2 separate regions of the Homo sapiens genome follow, and region 2 is linked to region 1. The links are contacts of gene promoters, found by promoter capture Hi-C in blood cells and fetal thymus (Javierre and others, 2016). All regions are on one chromosome and are shown on one strand. Each heading gives the region's core, a stretch centred on a gene start or on the middle of the fragment in contact. The rest is flanking DNA. Distances are from core to core; before and after follow the strand shown. Region 1 holds the start of CITED2 (Cbp/p300 interacting transactivator with Glu/Asp rich carboxy-terminal domain 2). Region 2 has its middle 650 kb from the start of GJE1.

Region 1 (3,121 bases), core at 504-3,003:
ACTACATAAGGGAGGTGGGTGAATGTCAAGGCTACAAAAACGAAACAAAAACAGGAAAAAAAAGTGGCAGCAATTTTTTTTAAAACCAATTTGTACAAGTTTATAGTTTACTTTGTTTCCAAGTTCTCAAACCTTTCAAGATCTGAAAAGTGAGATACTGTGTCTAAGGGAATGTTTCTTTTAATTCACGCCGAAGAAGTTGGGGGTTTGATTTCTTTCGCCGGGGTTTCGATCGAGTCAACAGCTCACTCTGCTGGGCTGCTGTTTGCACACGAAGTCCGTCATAAAATCAAACTCGTTTTGCCCCAGCCAGAGTTCGGGCAGCTCCTTGATGCGGTCCAAACCCATTTCTATCACCAAGGACATAAGAACTTCCTCGTCGATGAAATCAGTGTCTATGACATTGGGCGGCAGCATTGCAGCGGGGACGTGGGCCACGGAGGCGGGCATGTTGCCGCTGCCGCTGCCGCCGCCGCTGTTGCTGCTGCCCGCGCCGCCGCCCGAGCTGCTGCCAGAGCCGCCGGGGGTGCTGCTGCCGCCCGAGCCGCCGGGGGTGCTGCTGCCGCCGCTGTGCTTGGGGTTGCAATCTCGGAAGTGCTGGTTTGTCCCGTTCATCTGGTGGCCTGCAGCAGGGTGCAAATCCGGCATGTAGTGGTTGTGGGGGTAGGGGTGATGGTTGAAATACTGGTTGTTGAGCTTCTGCAGCTGCATGCTGGCCGGCAGGGAGCCTCCCTGGCTGGCCACCGGGGGACCCATGAACTGGGAGTTGTTAAACCTGGCCGCGGGGGCCAGCGCGCTCGGGGGGTGCCCTCCGTTCACAGTCCCCGGCCCCATCGCATGCCTGATGCCGCTCGTGGCATTCATGTTGCCCGCGCCGTAGTGTATGTGCTCGCCCATTAGGGCGTTGAAGGCGTGCTGGGGCTGCTGCTGCTGGTGGTGATGGGGGCTCGGGAACTGCCCCATGCCCATGCGGTGGGCAGGGTGATGGTGCAGCCCATTGGTGCCGTCGGGGAAGCGCCCGTGGTTCATGGCCATCATATGGTCTGCCATTTCCAGTCCTGGAAGTGAAAAGGGCAGATAATGAGACCCGCGCCACACGTGTCGCCCACCACAGCGCACCCCACTTTTGCTCGCCTCTGCCCCCCAGGATTCCCGGGCGCACGTCGGCTGCGAACCACCACCCCCAAGATCCCACTAACAGCCTGTGCACCCGGGCTAGCCACCACGGAAGAGCTACCACTCATAACACAGCCGGACGCTGCACAAACAGCCCCTTCCCCTGCGATCGGGCGGGGGGACCCGAGCCCACACCCCCTTTGCTCCCCGAAGTGGCCTAATAAAGGAAGTGCCCCGTAGCCCTGCTGCGAACTTCAGGCATTAAATCAGCCCTCCTCATCCTGTTGTTGCACATCCTGTTGTTATTCCCCAGCTTCGCCTCACGCTCTTCCTCCGGGCAAACCCTGCCCTCGGAGGACTGGGCTGGCAAGAGCCCCAGCCAGCTTCGCCCGTCGCGCTTACCTTCCGTTTTTGCGATTTCTGCTCCGAAGACCGAGGGCGGGCTCGTCGCGTCCAGGACCGGCTCAGCAGCACATAGAGGGGACCTTCCTGGCGTGCAAAGCGCTTCGCTGTCGCGATGTCGGCGCCGAGGTCTCGCAGCGGCCGCTGGGGCAGATTCGGAGCCGTTCCCTTTTATTTCCCCTCCGTTGCCCTCACAGCTCGGCAGGACCGCCCGGCAGCTGCCAACAATGAGCTGTGTTTCTTAGGGCTTTGGCCACAGTTAATATAGGCATTTCGGAAAGGCGGAGCGAGAGCCTCCAGGGCGGGCGGCGCCAAGACGCGGATTCCGGAACACCGCGAACACCCTGGACCGGGTCCCGGAGCCGCGTCCCCGCCGCCCGCGGCACGTGCTGCAGAGGCTGCGGGGCCCGGGGGCCGCCCAGTCGCCCCGTCGCCCCCCGACTCTGGTTTCTTCCCGGCCCAGAAACGCGAGGTTGGCTCAGCCACCCCCGAGGCAGGGGGAAAATCCTCCCCTGCCGCCCCGCCCGAAGGTAGAGCCTGCCGGGATAGCCACGAGGAGAGCTCACCGCCCCCCTCAGGCTGGATCTACCCCACCCCCAGCTTTCTCACTCGGTTCACCTAGCGATCTGCCCCGCTCTCTACGGGAAAAGGGGACTCGCCCAGCGCCCCCCGCCCTCCAGAGTGCCCTTGTGCCTCCCCGGTTTTGCAAAAGCTTCCACAGGCAGCGAAGAATGGCTGTGCTTCCTCGAGTTGGGTTTTAAAGACCCGGACAAATAATGCGCCCTTTCCTGAGCGCGCCTTCCTAGGCTGTGCCTTTGTGTTTTCATACGGGCAGTGGGTAGACCTACTCTAGATCACCGCTTGTAGATGCATTTTTTTCCTCCACTCCTTTCAAGGACAGGAGCTGGGGGCGGGGAGGGGCAGCCGCTGCAGGTGGACGGAGCGCGCTCGAGGGCCCGGCCACCCCCGCTCCCGCGCCCTGGAATTCCAGTCCGCGCTTTCGGGCCCGCCTGCCGCTCCCGGGGTACGTGTGCTTCTGCTAAGTTTGCGTTTGCAGCTCTTGGTAGCTTTGGCATCCGAGCTGAGGCGTCTCTGCTCTGTAAACAAACTCAGCGATCCTCGTCCCCAGATCCACCTTTTTGCACATACACAGTTACTTGCTTCTGCTGTTGCCCTGGATCCGGGAGGTGGGGGTGTGTACAAACTTGCAGAGCCTCCCTCCGGGCTCTGCCTGACGGTTTGGGGTTGATTTAGAAGCAAACGGGTTTGTAATTAAGAAATTTGAGGGCTGAGTAAGGCTGCTCTTGCTGGAAAAGGAAAACAAATAGATAACGTGGTAATCGCTTTGTAAATAAAGTCGTTCTGGAGGTGGGCACGTAGCTGCACGTCCCGTATGGCACCACGCGCACACACACGGCTGGGACTCTTCCTTTTCAGTGAAATTGTTCAGTGGGGCAATGGGCGATAATAATAACCTTGCTTCCACAACGCGGCACAACGAGCCTGGTCGCCCGTTTGGTTCATTGACTTGCAAATAAAACCCCTAACACAGGTCTGGGCTACTACCAAGTCGGAGCTCTCTGGCTTTCTCACATGGGGAAGC
Region 2 (2,871 bases), core at 81-2,580, 2.1 Mb after region 1:
ACTTAGATACAACTGAACCCCAATGGCAATGAAGCTTGTTTCCAGTCTTTATGTCCCTGTGAAATAAGAAACAACTTACAAATTTAGAGATGATAATACAGCAACAATATCTGAAAGAACTACACTTGAACACAAGAATTCAAACCCTAAAAGTAATAAAGTAATACCAATAATGATGTTATTTCACATACAGCTGTTCAATTGGATAATCACTGAATTGTCCTTACCGTTTAATTTATTTTTCTCCAGACTTACTCTATATGAACTATTCAACAATAGCAACAAAATAAATCAATAAATAATAAACAAGAGAGGTGAAGAATAATATCATGTGATTGATTTTTCTCTTCTTGAGAGCTTGTTTGGAAGTTCTAGCAGGGAAGCCCATCTACTCACGTGCCCTTGACTGAAGATGGGTCCTTCTCCATCGCGGATGGTCATCCTCTTTTACCGAGCACACAGCTTTGGAAGGAACGCATATGGAGTGGTGAGGAAGGAAGGGAACACCTGTCTAGTCAACCAGATCTGCTGCACCAACCCTGGCAATCAAATGGTTGATAGATGTTGCTCTTAGATTGCCCTCATATCCATAATTTTTCTCTTCTTCTTCTTCTTCCTTTTACCAAAACAACTACAACAACAACAAAACAAATAACTTTAATTTTGAAATGGCATTATGAGAAAAGGGTTCTGTATCGTGCTAATCCTTTTTTTTTTTTTTTTTTTTTTGAGACAGAGTCTGGCTCTCTCGCCCAGGCTGGAGTGCAGTGGCGTGATCTCGGCTCACTGCAACCTCTGCCTCCTGGGTTCAAATGATTCTCCTGCCTCAGCTTCCTGAGTAGCTGGGATTACAGAAGCTCACTACCACGCTCAGCTAATTTTTGTATTTTTAGTAGAGACGGGGTTTCACCACGTTGGCCAGGCTGTTCTCGAACTCCTGACCTCATGATCCGCCCACCTCAGCCTCCCAAAGTGCTGGGATTACAGCTGAGCCACCACACCCAGCCTGTGCAAATACTTTTTATGAGGAAATCATAGAAAAAGTATCTGTTAGTTGACAGGCAGTATCCATATTACAGTGTTTGGTTTGAGCACTTGAGTTGTTCTGAAGCTAGGTTACCATGAAAATAAATACAGTGATACTTGGAATCAGAGAACACATATGGTCAGCATTTTCCAGATGGCATATTTATGTCAAATGTATAGACATTATAAGAAAAAATATTATAAGTCAATATTAAGAAGACTCTCTAAATATTTAGGTAAATACAATGCACTGTTCCCTCCGCCCAGAAATAGAGTATGATCCTGGCACCTTGCCAAGAAACACATAGAAATATCCTTGTACGTTGTGCTTATAGTAGATAATCTGAAAAGTTTCATCCAAATCTTAAATTCTAGATATGAATAGTTTGTAATAAAGTGTTAGAAGGATCAAGATTAAAAATTATTTGCATATGGTTCCCAACGCCTCTTAGTAATCAGTGGATGATAAGTTCCTTGTAACTTATTTTAATAAAAAGTCTTGAGTACAGAATGTGAGTATATTATAGACTAAATATTTATATTCCTTCCCCCAGATTCATATATTGAAGGCCTAACTGCCAATATGACTGTATTTGTGTATTTGGGGAAGAAGCCTCTACAGATATAATTAAGGTTAAATAAGATCATTAAATTGGGACACTAATCCAATAGAAATAATGTCTTTATAAGAAGAAACACCAGAGAGAAAAATAACTTTCTCCTCTCTCTCACTCTCTCTCTTTCTCTCTCTCTCTAGCTGTCTCTCCAGGAGGACACAAAGAAAAGATCAAGACAGCATGTAGCAAATGTAGCAAGGAGGCATCCAATCATCTGCAACCCAAGGGGCAAACCCTCGCCACACACCAACCCTGCTGGCTCCTTGCTTTTGGACTTCCAGTTTCAGAATTATGAGAAAATACATTTCTGTGTTTAGGCCATCAAGTCTATTGTATTTTGTTCTGACAGCCTGAACAGACTAATACACAGTATAATACAATTGAATTGTTGATTCATCTAAGAAATATATAATTTCTACATGGTTTGTTGCAATTATCTGGGAATAAATATTACCATGACCACTTATTCAGAACTTGATATCTGTATTTATTTCTAAGCATGCATATAATCCCATTACTTGGTAGTCATTTGAATGTATGTTCCACACTTACACCAAAAAGTGATAATAGTATTGACTTCATATAAGAAGTCTTGATAGTCAGTAGTATTGACTTCACATAAGAAAATATTATAAATTAATTCCAATTCCAATTTATGAAGATATTATAAATTTAATATCTCTGAATGTAAATTCTCGGTTGTTCTAGATATAAAAATAAATTATTGATTTATTTTGCTAAGCTACTATAAAACACAATAAAATTTAAAAGCCTCAATTTTGCTGATTGTTTACTATTACAAATCATGCTGGAATGGACATTCTCATATTCTGTTTAGTCTTAATCCTTCCCCCACCAAATCCAATGGAGTCAAGGATTTGGACACAGACACTTTATTTTGAAGTTGATCCCAGGCACCAAAAATGAGAAAAGAAAGAAAGGGAAATAGGTAAGAGAAAAGGGGCAATAAAGTTACGTCTTAACAAGCTTGAGTACCACAGTTAACAACTGAGTCACAATCCCACTGGGGATTGTAAGGAACATACCTTGGGTTAGTTCTACCCCAGTACAAGGAAGCTACAGGATTTAGCCATTGCCTTTTAGCCCCAATTGTTGAGGATTTCCCTTAAGTAGTGTTAACACAGGCACATACTGAGTGTTCCTGTGTCCAGCATTTCTATCTCATTTGTTTTCAGAGAAACGGCTTAAGTGGAGAAGGGTGATGCAG

The links. Contacts are between HindIII fragments. The CHiCAGO score rates a contact against its expected background, and 5 or more counts as called.
Region 2: a fragment that was not itself captured here is called in contact with the fragment with the promoter of CITED2 in region 1 in 1 of 17 cell types (naive B cells); the score reaches 6.3 in naive B cells.

What each region holds. Positions count from the first base shown.
Region 1 is chr6:139,372,895-139,376,015 of GRCh38, forward strand. It overlaps CITED2 (Cbp/p300 interacting transactivator with Glu/Asp rich carboxy-terminal domain 2), which reads right to left and starts at 1,754. Exons shown (of 2, transcript NM_006079.5): 1 at 1,519-1,754; 2 at 1-1,058. The coding sequence starts at 1,050. The coding sequence ends at 238. RefSeq lists silencers at 463-562, 1,133-1,282, 1,743-2,122, 2,293-2,602 and enhancers at 853-912, 1,423-1,592. The HindIII fragment of the contact is 2,760 bases long and covers 1-2,228 here.
Region 2 is chr6:141,485,824-141,488,694 of GRCh38, forward strand. It overlaps the pseudogene RN7SKP106. Among named protein-coding and RNA genes, the nearest start is that of GJE1, 650 kb to the right of the region's middle. RefSeq lists a silencer at 2,776-2,871. The HindIII fragment of the contact is 2,596 bases long and covers 33-2,628 here.